2 separate regions of the Homo sapiens genome follow, and region 1 is linked to region 2. The links are contacts of gene promoters, found by promoter capture Hi-C in blood cells and fetal thymus (Javierre and others, 2016). All regions are on one chromosome and are shown on one strand. The core of a region is centred on a gene start or on the middle of the fragment in contact, and the rest is flanking DNA. Distances in the headings are between cores, read along the strand shown. Region 1 holds the start of CDR2L (cerebellar degeneration related protein 2 like). Region 2 overlaps NUP85 (nucleoporin 85).

What was found. Contacts are between HindIII fragments. The CHiCAGO score rates a contact against its expected background, and 5 or more counts as called.
Region 1: a contact is called between the fragment with the promoter of CDR2L here and a fragment that was not itself captured in region 2, in 3 of 17 cell types (activated CD4 T cells, naive B cells and naive CD4 T cells). The highest score is 6.3, in activated CD4 T cells.

Annotation. Positions count from the first base shown.
Region 1 is chr17:74,985,263-74,991,800 of GRCh38, forward strand. CDR2L (cerebellar degeneration related protein 2 like) reads left to right here and starts at 2,370. Exons shown (of 5, transcript NM_014603.3): 1 at 2,370-2,860. The coding sequence starts at 2,782. RefSeq lists an enhancer at 2,208-2,709 and silencers at 2,276-2,355, 2,376-2,465. The HindIII fragment of the contact is 10,272 bases long and covers 1-5,722 here.
Region 2 is chr17:75,207,159-75,213,752 of GRCh38, forward strand. NUP85 (nucleoporin 85) reads left to right here. Exons shown (of 19, transcript NM_024844.5): 2 at 1,369-1,462; 3 at 2,665-2,827; 4 at 4,834-4,904; 5 at 5,918-5,961. Among named protein-coding and RNA genes, the nearest start is that of NUP85, 4.8 kb to the left of the region's middle. RefSeq lists an enhancer at 620-1,187. The HindIII fragment of the contact is 1,074 bases long and covers 1,966-3,039 here.

The DNA.
Region 1 (6,538 bases), core at 1,120-3,619, 220 kb before region 2:
CCCAGCTGCCAGGGCTCTGTGCAAACTAGTCTCAGCTGAAAAGAACTTATTTGGCCAAGGTCACACATGCCTCCTAGGAACGACCTGTGTCATTCAATGACTGGTTGATATGTAAGGGTGGGGGATATAAAGGCCCCCTCCCCCAATGATACCTGGAATAGCTTTGAAGGGTCACCCTGGATTCAAAGTTCTTCAGGGATCAGAGGAGGCTTTTGCAGAGGCTACATACCAACCCAGCTTCTCCCCCACCAACCCTGCTTCCCTCCCTTTCCTGCAGGTGTTGATCATGAGAGCACTCCCTAGTCAACTTTCTTTCTTTTTTCTCCCTCTAATCCAATATGATTGATATCCCTAATCAACTTCCTGCATGCTAATCTCCATCTCAGGATCAGCTGCCTGGGAACACAACCTACAACAGCTTACGTTATTCAGCTTTCATGGTTATCAAGCAGTCTTTTTTTTTTTTTTTTCCAAGACGCAGTCTTGCTCTATCGCCCAGGCTGGGTGCAGTGGCGCAATCTCAGCTCACTGCAACTTCCGCCTCCCAGGTTCAAGCAATTCTCCTGCCTCAGCCTCCCAAGTAGCTAGGACTACAGGCATGTGCCACCATGCCCAGCTAATTTTGTATTTTTAGTAGAGACAGGGTTTCACCATGTTTCCCAGGCTGGTCTTGAACTCCTGACCTCAAGCGATCCACCCTCCTTGGCCTTCCAAAGCGTTGGGAATTACAGGCATGAGCCACCACGCCCGGGCAGTTTTCTAAAGTGGTTGTCGTCCTATGTATTCCCTCCAGCAGGGTGAGAGAGTTCCAGTTGCTCAACATTCTTGCCAATACTAGGTATTTTTTGTCTTTTTTTTTTTTTTTTTTTTTTTTTTTTTGAGACAGGATCTTGCTCTGTCACCCAGGCTGGAGTGCAGTGGCATGACCACAGCTCCCTACAGCCTCAACCTCCTAGACTCAAGCAATTCTCCCACCTCAGCCTCCCAAAGTATCTGGGACTACAGCCGTGTGTCATTATGCCCACCTAATTTTTATTTTTAAATTTTTTTATAGAAATAGGATCTTGCTATGTTGCCCAGGCTGCTCTTGAACTCCAGGCTCAAGTGATCCTCCCAACCTCGGCCTCCCCAGAGTTCTGGGATTATAGGCATGAACCACCACGCCTGGCCTTTTTTTTTTTTTTTTTTTTCCCTAAAGCCACTCTGGTGATTGGGTAGTGATACCTCATTGTGGTTTTCATTTGCATTTTTCTGATGGCTAAAGAAGTTCAGTACCTTGTTGCATATTTATTCAGTTATTTGTGTATCCTTTTTTGTGAATTACCTGGTCAAATCTTTTACCCACTTTTCTACTGGGTTGCGTGCCTTTTTCTTATGACTATGCAGATGTTCTTTCTGTATTCTGGATACAAGTCATTCGTTGGGTATATCACAACATTATTCAGAGATTCTCAACGGCACCAGCACATTAGGGTCCCAATAAAAATGAGTTACGTGAATGCTTGAGTCCGAACACTCTTCTAAGGAAAGAATGCTTGGACAGATGCAAGTGTGTATAGTTTTAATGGGTATAATTGGATATAGGATATGGGTCCCAAGGAAAGGAAAACAGAACCTTGAATGCAGGTAACACACCCTCAAACTTTGCCACTTTCAGCCTGTGGTTTCTAGCCACAAGCACTTAAACACGCAGTTCCCAAAGGCAACTGTAAATTAGTATTCATTCATTCAAAGAATGTCGATGGAAGGTATCAATGACCAGCATGTTGTTTGTTTTTTGTTTGTTTGTTTTTTGAGGCAGAGTCTCCCTCTGTCGCCCAGGCTGGAGTGCAGTGGCGCTATCTTGGCTCACTGCAACCTCTGCCTCCAGGGTTCAAGCGATTCTCCTGCCTCAGCCTCCCGAGTAGGCATGCGCCACCATGCCCAGCTAATTTTTGTATTTTTAATGGAGACGGGGTTTCGCCATGTTGGCCAGGCTGGTCTCGAAACCCCTGACCTCAGGCGATCTGCCCGCCTTGGCCTCCCAAGGTGCTGGAATTACAGGAGTCAGGCATCGCGCCCGACTGGTGAGCAGCCTGTTCTAGGAAGTGAGTAGCCAGCTGTGAAAGAGAAACAATATTCTTGCTTCCAGGAGATCTAGGAGAGACGACAACTTCTAAAATAGCATAATTTTAGACATGAGACATAAACTGAATAGGTCGTAGGGGGAAGTAGGACGAAAGGGTTGATCAAGCAATTCCCAGACCAAGACACCAGGAGGGTCCCGCCCTCGGCCCCGCCTCCAGCTTTGCATACATCTCCTGATTGGTCGGCGGCGGCAGGCCCCACCCCGCGGAGCCGAGCTCCGCAAGCTGCAGGCGGGCTCCGCCAAGATGCAGCGGCGGCTCCGGTTGTCGCCGGGCGGGCCAGGAGCAGCGCGGACCCGAGCCGGGCAGGGGGCGCCCGCCACGGCACCCGCGCGCTCCTAGCGCCCCAGACCCGCCTGCGGGCCCGGATCCTCCTTGCCACTGTCCCACCCGCCGTCCCTGCCACTCCACCCTTTGTGTCGCCGCAGCCCGGTGCCCCCGGCTCTGCGGGACCCCGGCCGGGCCGGACCCTGGCAAAGCGCCAGGCCCCGCGTGGGCTCCCGGCGAGCGGTTGATGGCGAGGGGGCGCGGCGCGGGCTCTGTAGCCCGAGTTCCCGACGCTGGAGGCCCGGCCCGCCTCAGCCGCATTGTCCCGGGCCGCGCGCACCGGCCCTGAGCTGCGCCGCCGCAGCACCCGCCCGCCGCCCGCGGGGCCATGCGGAGAGCCGCCGGGATGGAGGACTTCTCCGCGGAGGAAGAGGAGTCCTGGTACGACCAGCAGGACCTGGAGCAGGGTGAGCGCGGGGGCGACCGGGACAGGAAGGCGGGGAGCGCCCGGTGACCCCTGTCCGCTTCTCCATTGTTGGGCGCTATCACCCCGGGAGGGGCTGGGCTGGACCGGGCGCGCCCGACTCGGAGGAGGGACGCGTCTGGAGAACCGGGACGTGGAGAGAGGGGGCGCTGCCGGAGAAGACGCGGACCGGACGGGCGGAGACCTGCAAAAGTGGGGGGCGGGGGGCGGTCTTCCTATTTTCCCAGACGACCGGGCATCCGTCATCCAGCTCGCCCACCCCGTCCTGGAGGCAGCAACTGCTCGGCCGCCCCTGGTATTGTTACGGGGCCTGAGCGCTAGCTAGGAGTCTTCTGAGGCCGGGAGGCGGCTCCTTCGTCATGTTTTGCTGGGAGGGTGGCTTGTGTGTAGAGGGAAGTTATCTCACGCCAAATCCAGCAGCACCCGTCCCTGACAGGAATTATGAGCTCTAAGACTCCTAGAAAGTTTCCCTAACTCGCTTCCTACTCAGGGAGAAGTGGTACCGCGTCTTTGCTGGTGAAGAAGCAGAAAGTCAAGTCTCCCATCTGCCTTCGAGAGTCAGGAGTCGCTTAGCCCTCCCCTGCCCGGTCCCCTTGCAAATGGCTCATGGTTTGGAGGGGGTCAGGTTCGGGAATCCCGGCCAGTGTGCCAGGCGAGAGACCGAATAAAGAGGGATACATCTCCGCTGCCCCCAGTTGCCATCTGAGGACAGAAAGGGCGACTGGAAGGGGGTTAGAAGCTGGTGATGAGGTGGCCGAAATGACATCACTGGGAGTGGGGGGTGGGGCTGTTGGGACAGAAAGGAAGAGGAGGCCTGCTGGAGTGGAGTCAGTTCTATCCTCTCCTCCCCTAAGATGCCTCCTTCTTGGATGGTGAGAGCTGGAAGGGGCGAGGAAACATGTCCAGGGAGAAGTGACCTTCCCATGGCCTCCAGCAAGCTGGGGGGTGTGGACATAAGTCTGCTGCAGTTTGTGCCATTGTGGCCTGCTGTGGTGTGCCCACACCCTGGTCTCCATCCACAAGGCTCCAGAGGGCTGGCTTTGCCCTGATGTGCAGCAGCTATCCGGATTCTGAAGCCCCTGACCTACTTCCCCACATGGCCAAGACTGGCTGGCAGATGAGGCTCTGTCCTTGTGCTGAGGACAAGGGTTAATCATAGCCTCAGGGGGACCAGGGTGGGACTGGGGATGCTGGACTAGGCCCTGCCATGGTCTGTGCCCTGGACTCTGGCCTCAGCCTCCTTGGCTGAAATGAGATACAGCTCCTCTCAAACACACACACACACACACACACACACACACACACACATCCACACATTGTGACAACCCCCTCTCCCATCCTGGGCAGTAAATTTTTCCATGAACACCTATTAGGCTCCCCTTAAGTACCAGACACCATCCTGGGAGCTAGGAATAGTCACAGCCCTGACCCTGAAGGTATACCCTGGCAGGTGAAGGAGGCAGGCTTGTAACTAAGTGTAGGTGGCACAGTATTTTTTTCTTTTTTCTTTTTATTTATTTATTTATTTATTTTCAGACAGAGTCTCCCTCTGTCACCCAGGTTGGAGTGTAATGGTGCGATCTCAGCTCACTGCAACCTCCATCTCCCGGGTTCAAGTGATTCTCCTGCCTCAGCCTCCTGAGTAGCTGGGACCACACCTGGCTAATTTTTGTATTTTTAGTAGAGACAGGGTTTCACCATGTTGGCCAGGCTGCTCTCAAACTCCTGACCTCAGATGATCCACCCGCCTTGGCCTCCCGAAGTGCTGGGATTACAGGCGTGAGCCACCACGCCCGGCTGGTGGCACAGTATTATGGGCAGTGGGGAGGGCTTCCTGGAAGAGCCAGGCTTAGAAAGAAAGATCAGAAACTGAGTTCTTGAGAAGATGGTTTTCAGGGAGGCCGATGCCAATATTGTTGCTGTCTCACTTAATTCCTGCACCCCTAATGAAGGCTTTGGCACTGTTCCTGGCCCAGAAATGGGAAAGGAGCCAGGGCATAGAGGTGGGAGATGCGCAGAGATGTGCAGCTTCTTGAGAGAGAGAAGGATCTGAGACTCCAGCTGCGCTGGGTGGCCGTGCTCTGGGCTGCCGGGAGGGATGGGCCCGGCAGGCCTCTGCTTCTCTGGCCCTGCTGGTCTGCAGCTGTTGGCCTGGCCTGGCAGCTCCAATGGTAGCCAAAGGCCAGGAACCAGGAGGGAAAGCAGAAATGAGACAGAATAAACTGGAGCTTCCTGCCAAAAGCTGGATGTCTGCTTACTGTGGGCCAGGTACTGTGCTGAGCCTGAGGACATAATCTCTGCCCTCAGAGGACTCCACGTTACATTAGAGAAGACAGAAATAGGACCAAACTCACAATGGCGTCAGAGTGAGGGGTTCTGCAGCTGTAGGCCCAGCAACGGGGACAGCAGAGACTTAGAAAGGTTTATGCCAAGGCCCTTTTGAGCTGGAGGCTCCCCAGGAGAGGGAGGGAAGAAGGCATTCCAGGGGGAAGCGATGCTTGTACCAAGTCATGGAGCGACATGAGAAGGCTGGAAAATAGGGAGGGAGGGGCTGAAGGAAGCATCAGACACGGGTTCTGTGGGGCATTCCCGTGGGCCCTGCCCGCCCTGTGCCCCAGGGGCCAGGCATGGAGAGCTGGATGGTGGGACGGAGCACGGGCCAAAGGCCAGCCATATTGGGTGTCAAAGGCCTGTTGCATCTCCCAACCCACAAATTCTCTTCCACCCAGCTGCTCCCTGGTTGCCTGTGAGTGGCCCAGAAATGGTTTTCTCAGCCAGCCACCTGGTCTTCCCTCCTGTCTGTTTCCTCCTGCCCAAAGGGCAGGCCCTGATTCCACTTTCCAGAAGCTTGACTGTAGAGATCCTGTTTGGCTTTGATGCTCTGTCCTGGTGGAAAGCAGCCGTGGGACAAGTGAGGTCCTAGATTCTCGCTGTGTTCCCTCTGCCCACTGCCACGAGCATTTATAAAAATAGAAAAAGCCAGCTGGGCACAGCAGCTCACACCTGTAATCCCAGCACTTTGGGAGGCCAAGGCGGGCGGATCACCTGAGGTCGGGAGTTCGAGACTAGCCTGACCAACATGGAGAAACCCCGTCTCTACTAAAAATACAAAATTAGCCAGGCGTGGTGGCACATGCCTGTAATCCCAGCTACTCAGGAGGCTGAGCCAGGAGAATCTCTTGAACCCAGGAGGCAGAGGTTGCAGTGAGCTGAGATAGCTAGCGCCATTGCACTCCAGCCTGGGCAACAAGAGCAAACTCTGTCTTTAAAAAAAAAAAAAAAAAAAGCCTAGAAAGAGCCGGGCACGGTGGCTCACGCCTGTAATCCCAGCACTTTGGGAGGCCGAGGCGGATGGATCACAACATCAGGAGATCGAAACCATCCTGGCTAACACAGTGAAACCCCGTCTCTACTAAAAATACAAAAAATTAGCCGGGCGCGGTGGCGGGCGCCTGTAGTCCCAGCTACTCGGGAGGCTGATGCAGGAGAATGGTGTGAACCCGGGAGGCAGAGCTTGCAGTGAGCCAAGATCGCGCCACTGCACTCCAGCCTGGGCGACAGAGTGAGACTCTGTCTCAAAAAAAGAAAAAAAGAAAGAAAAAGCCATTAATTATTAAGCACTGGCACTCCCTCTTTCGGCCCACATTCCTCCCCTACCTTG
Region 2 (6,594 bases), core at 1,253-3,752:
AGCTCTCTGGGGAGATATGTGGCCTTCTTTTTTTTTTCTCTTGAGGCGGAGTTTCCCTCTTGTCGCCCAGGCTAGAGTGCAGTGGTGCGGTCTCGGCTCTCTGCAACCTCCGCCTCCCAGGTTCAAGCAATTCTCCTGCCTCAGCCTCCTGAGTAGCTGGGATTGCAGGCATGTGCCACCATGCCCGGCTAATTTTGTATTTTTTTAGTAGAGACGAGGTTTCTCCATGTTGGTCAGGCTGGTCTGGAACTCCTGACCTCAGGTGATCTGCCGGCCTCAGTCTCCCAAAGTGCTGGGATTACAAGTGTGAGCCACTGCGCCTGGCCTCATTCTTTTTTTGAGACGGATTCTCACTCTGTCACCCAGAGTGGAGTGCAGTGGCGTGATCTCAGCTCACTGCAACCTCTGGCTCCTGGGTTCAAGCGATTCTTCTGCCTCAGTCTCCTGAGTAGCTGAGATTACAGGTGCGTGCCACCACACCCAGCTAATTTTTGTATTTTTGGTAGAGATGGGGTTTCACCATCTTGGTCAGGCTGGTCTCCAAAGCCTGACCTCGTGATCAGCCTGCCTCGGCCTCCCAAAGTGCTGGGATTACAGGCATGAGCCACCGCGCTTGGCTAGGAGTTCGAGATCAACCTGGCCAACATGGTGAAACCCCATCTCTACTAAAAAAATACAAAAATTAGCCTGGTTTGGTGGCGCGTGCCTGTAATCCCACCTACTCAAGAAGCTGAGGCAGGAGAATCACTTGAACCCAGCAGGCAGAGGTTGCAGTGAGTCGAGATTGCGTCACTGCAGTCCAGCCTGGGCAACAAGAGTTCGAACTCCTGACCTCAGATGATCTGCCCGCCTTAGCCTCCCAAAGTGCTGGCAGGAGCCACCCCGCTGCCGGCCCAAAATGAATTTTTCTTACCAGTGTTATAAGGAAATGTTATTGAAGGATACAGTGTTATTAGAGGACCAGCTGTGCTCTTCACTTAAAGTGTTTTTCAGCAGGGCGGGCACGGTGGCTCGCGCCTGTAGTCCTAGCACTTTGGGAGGCTGAGGCGGACGGATCACCTGAACTCAGGAGTTTGTGACCAGCCTGGGCAATATGGTGAAACTCTATCTCTACTAAAAATGAAAAAAAAAAAAAAAATAGCCGGGTGTGGTTGCACACACCTGTAGTCCCAGCTACTCAGGAGGTTGAGGCAGGAGAAGCCTTTGAACCCAGGAGGCGGCGATTGGAGCAAGCTGAGATTACACCACTGTACACCAGCCTGTTAGAGTGAGTCTTTGTCTCAAAAAAAAAAAAAAAAAAAAAAGAATGGAACAACTTCAGTAAGAAGAACATTTTTCATTTTAGATTTCTATGCCTTATTTTACTAGTTGATTCCAGGCGTGAATTCCAAGAAGAACCAAATGTATTTTGACTGGGGTCCAGGGGAGATGCTGGTATGTGAAACCTCCTTCAACAAAAAAGGTAGGGTTTTTTTTCTTCCAAATTATCCATCTTGGCACATTTGGTTGTTTTTCTGTTTATTACCTCAGATTTTACTAGTTGTGGACTGAAACAGTTGAATTTATTTTGTACTATTTTAATTTTCTCTATTTTGTTTTCAAGATACAACAGGGTTTTGTTGTGTCACCTGGGCTGGAGTACAGTGTGATCATGGCTCACTGCAGCCTCTACCTCTTGGGCTCAAGTGATCCTCTGCCTCAGTCTTCCTAGTAGCTGAGACTACAGGTCACCATGCCACCACGCCCAGCTAATTTTTTTTTCTTTGTAGAGATGGGAGTCTCATTTTGTTGCCTAGGCTGGTCTCGCACTCCTGGCCTCAAGCGATCCTGTTGCATTTTGGCATTTTTATTTTTGAAATGTTAGCTATTTTAGATTTTCATTGATTTTTGAGATCTTGAAGATGTTGAATCCCGGAAAAAAATTAATAGTTTTCATGAAAAATTTTCTTCATATTTAAAATGTCAAGCTTTTTATCCCTTTTTCTTTGTCCAAAGTGACCAAATTCCTATCAGTAGCTCCCTTATTGTGAACCTTGCAGATGCTTGGCCGTCACTTTTGTGTCCACAGCATGGATTCAGCTGAATAATAGTTCTGTAGGCTGAGCTGAGCCGTAGCATCCAAGGCACAGATGGAGCTGGAGAGTGACATAGCTTGTCCTTGGCTTGATTTTCCTGAGTTCCATCAGCTATTGGATAGGATGTGAATCTTTTTCTTTTCCTGATACAGTGATACAGTCTCCTTCCAGTAGAAGGATAAAACTGGAATCTTGACATTTGATTTGCTTTCTTTTTTTTTTTTTTTTTTTGAGACGGAGTCTCGCTCTGTCCAGGCTGGAATGCAGTGGTGTGATCTCGGCTCACTGCCACCTCCGCCTCCCGGTTTGAAGCAATTCTCCTGCCTCAGTCTCCTGAGTAGCTGGGAATGAAGGCATGTGCCACCACGCCCAGCTAATTTTTGTATTTTTAGTAGAGACAGGGTTTTGCTATGTTGGCCAGCCTGGTCTCGAATTCCTGACCTCGTGATCTGCCTGCCTTGGCCTCCCAAAGTGCTGGGATTATAGGCAAGAGCCACCATGCCCGGCCACAGAAAATTTTTTTAGAGTAGATTCACTTTTGGAGATGATCATAATAGATGTTAAATTTTTTTTTTCTGTTTGGTTTCAGAAAAATCAGAGATGGTGCCAAGTTGCCCCTTTATCTATATCATCCGTAAGGATGTAGATGTTTACTCTCAAATCTTGAGAAAACTCTTCAATGAATCCCATGGAATCTTTCTGGGCCTCCAGAGAATTGACGAAGAGTTGACTGGAAAATCCAGAAAATCTCAGTAAGTTGGTTGCTGTTTGGTGTTGAAGCCCACACTACACTGTGGAAAGCCAAATGAAGTACATTGTTGTCTTTTTGTGTGTTTTATGGGTTGCGTAAAGAAATAAGAGACTCCTGGTTCTAGTTGAGGCATGAGTACTGGACAGTGTACATTAGCAGTGATGGGAAGACTTAGCGGGAATATGCAAATGCTATTGATGGGCTGGCTTGACAAGCTTTATTTATATTCATATTTTACTTAGCCTCTAAAGAAGAAAATTTAGGCCACACAAGCATGTGAGAGTCGTTGAATGAGGTCACATTGTTGGGAGATTTGAAAATTAATATAAACCTAACAGTTTTGTCTCTAAAAAATTATGGTTCAGACGTTATTTGACAACAGACCAGAAAACTCTCGTACTATTTATAGATTAGGATTTTCTTGAATTGTAGTTCATAACTTCATCATTATCAGAGTGGTACTTGTTAATTGTAGACTTTTGGGACCCACCTCAGATCATCAAAATCAAAATCTCCGTGGTTGGATCTTAAAATCTCCAGCACACTGAAGTTTAAGAACTCCTGTGTTAGATTTTTGTCAGCGTCCCTTCACATGGATGGCTAGGGAATGGGCAGTGTTGGTATGTTACTTCTTTGATAAGCTTTTCACAAATGAATCATTCTGGACAAGACTCAGGTCAGCTTCTGTGTGAGTGTGTGCAAGAGTGATTATTGGTTGTTTTTCTGTTTTTTTTCGAGGCAGAGTTTCGCTCTGTCACCCAGGCTGGAGTGCAGTGACGCGTTCTCCGCTCACTGTAAGCTCTGCCTCCTGGATTCACGCCATTCTCCTGCCTCAGCCTCCCGAGTAGCTGGGACTACAGGCGCCTGCCACCACATCCGGCTAATTTTTTGTATTTTTAGTAGAGACGGGGTTTCACCGTGTTAGCCAGGATGGTCTCGATCTCGTGACCTCGTGATCCACCTGCTTCGGCCTCCCAAAGTGCTGGGATTACAGACGTGAGCCACTGTGCCTGGCCCTGTTTTTTTTTTTTTTTTTGAGACAGAGTTTCACTCTGTCACCCAGGCTGGAGTGCAGTGGCGCAATCTTGGCCCACTGCAGCCTCTGCCTCCTGGGTTGAAGCCATTCTCCTGCCTCAGCCTCCTGAGTAGCTGGGATTACAGGTGCGTGCCACCACGCCTGGCTAATTTTTGCATTTTTAGTAGAGATGGGGTTTCATCATTTTGGCTGGGCTGGTCTTGAACTCCTGACCTCAAGTGATCTGCCCACCTCAGCGTCCCAAAGTGCTGGGATTATAGGAGTGAGCCACTGCACCTGGCCTGATTATTGGATTTAAGGGACTCTAGTGGAGAATATTGGTGAGTTTGAGAAATCTATTGTCACTTCTAGGAAAAAAACATGTCAAAAGTCCTGTAATTCCTTGCTGGCAGGGGACCCTGTCTTATTCTTTTTTTTTTTTTTTCAGATGGAGTCTCACTCTGTCGCCCAGGCTGGAGTGCAATGGCATGATCTTGGCTCACTGCAACCTCCGCCTGCCGGGTTCAAGAGATTCTCCTGCCTCAGCCTCCTGAGTAGCTGGGATTTTTGTATTTTTAGTAGAGACAGGGTTTCACCAGGTTGGCCAGGCTGGTCTCAAACACCTGACCTCAGGTGATCTGCCCACTTTCACCTCCCAAAGTGCTGGGATTACACGCCTGAGCCACCGGGCCTGGCCAGTAAATACATTTATGTATCTTTTTTATTTTTTTGAGACAAGGTCTGACCAGTAGATTTCATCTGCAACAATTAATGGCAGTATGGGTTTGTGGATATTAACTTTAGCCCATGGGTTGTTTTGTGGCGTTTTATTTTGTTGTCCAAGTTGTTCCAGCTTCAGAAGGTTAGGAGCTCCTTCACAACGGCTCTCCTCTTTCTTTCAGCAAATTTCTGCATTTATTTGAGTGTTTCCTTCCTTTGTGGCACTACAAGATGTTCCAGGCTCATCTTGTGTGTTATTTCATTTTTTGTAGATTGGTTCGAGTGAGTAAAAACTACCGATCAGTCATCAGAGCATGTATGGAGGAAATGCACCAGGTTGCAAGTAAGGACTGTGTGCGCGTGCGCGCGTGTGTGTGTGTGTGTGTGTGTGGGTATTTTGAGTATTTATCTATGCATAAATACTGTGAGGTAAAGTTTGATTGATATTCCAGTCCAAAACTTATTTTTCCATCTTTCATAATCCTTACTTTTTTGGTAATCATTTAGAGGTTTTTTTTTTTGTTGTTGTTTTTTTTTTTTTTTTTTTTTTTTTTTTTTTTTTTTTTTGAGACCGAGTGTTGCTCTGTCGCCCAGGCTGAGGTGCTGTGGCATGAACTCAGGTCACTGCAACCTCCACCTCCCAGGTTCAAACGATTCTCTAGCCTCAGCCTCCTGAGTAGCTGGGACTACAGTTGTACACCACCAAGCCCAGAGTTCTGGGATTACAGGAGTCAGCCACTGTGCCTGGAGTTTTTTTTTTTTTTTTTTTTTTTTTTTGAGACAAGGTTGCCCAGGCTGGAGTGCAAAGAAACATTATGGCTCACTGCAGTCATGAGCTCACCGCCTGGGCTCAAGTGATCTTCCTACCTCATCCTTCCAAGTAGTTGGGACTGCAGGTGTGTACTACCATGCCCAGCTAATTTAAACAGTTTTTGTCCAGTTTTCCTCAGAGAACTTTGTTCTGATAATTTTTAAATTATTTGTAGAAACGGGGTCTCCCTAATTTTTCCAGGCTGTTCTTGAACTCCTGGGCTCAAGCAGTCCTTTGACATCAGCCTCCCAAAGTGTCGGGATTACAGGTGTGAGCCACTGTGCTTGGCATGTCAGAGACCTTTATGGTAGCTGTGTTGCAGTTGAAAGTGCCATTTTGTAACTTGAGGGCTTTTGGTTTGAGAATTGAAGGGATATGAAGCATTAACAGCAACAAAAAAATCCATAATTAAAAGAGATTATAATGTCTTTTAATTTTTCTCATTAAAATAAACAGAGGCTCAAGCCATAGACCCTGGAATATTCAGCTATGACAATAAGCCTAAGAGTTCCATTGCTCACTTAAAATGTTTTGTGTTTTGTTAGTTGCTGCTAAAGATCCAGCCAATGGCCGCCAGTTCAGCAGCCAGGTAAGGGGAGTCACCTTTATTGTTTTAGCACCACTGTGTCCTGTGTCCTGGGCACCCACCTGGGGTGGCTTTGCAGTTCCTGTTATGGCAGAAGTCTCTTCTTTTCAGGTAGATAGGCAGCTCCTTTGGGTGACAGTGATTGTCTTGCCCCCTTCAAGGTGTAGCTCACAAGGAAGTGCTTGTTAAATACTTGAGTGAATGTTCGGTTCCTTTTTTTTTTTTTTGAGATGGAGTCTTGCTCTGTCACCCAGGCTGGAGTGCCCTGGGTTCAAGCATTTCTCCTGTCTCAGCCTCCCGAGTAGCTGGGATTATAGGTGCATGCCACACCAAGCCCAGCTACTTTTTGCATTTTTAGTAGAGATGGGGTTTCACCATGTTGGCCAGGCTGGTCTTGAACTTTTGACCTCAAGTGATCCACCCGCCTCGACCTCCCAAAGTGGTGGGATTACAGGTGTAAGCCACCGTGCTGGCCCTGAATGTTCCGTTCTTATGGAACATATATGTCCTGACCAAATTGTGTTGAGGGGTTGTCACCTGAAATGGAGAAGTAATCTTGTGAGATCACTGCTCGGTCTCATAAACACTCCTCACTTCTTGAACTCAACATTTTTTTTTTGAAAGACAGGGTCTCTC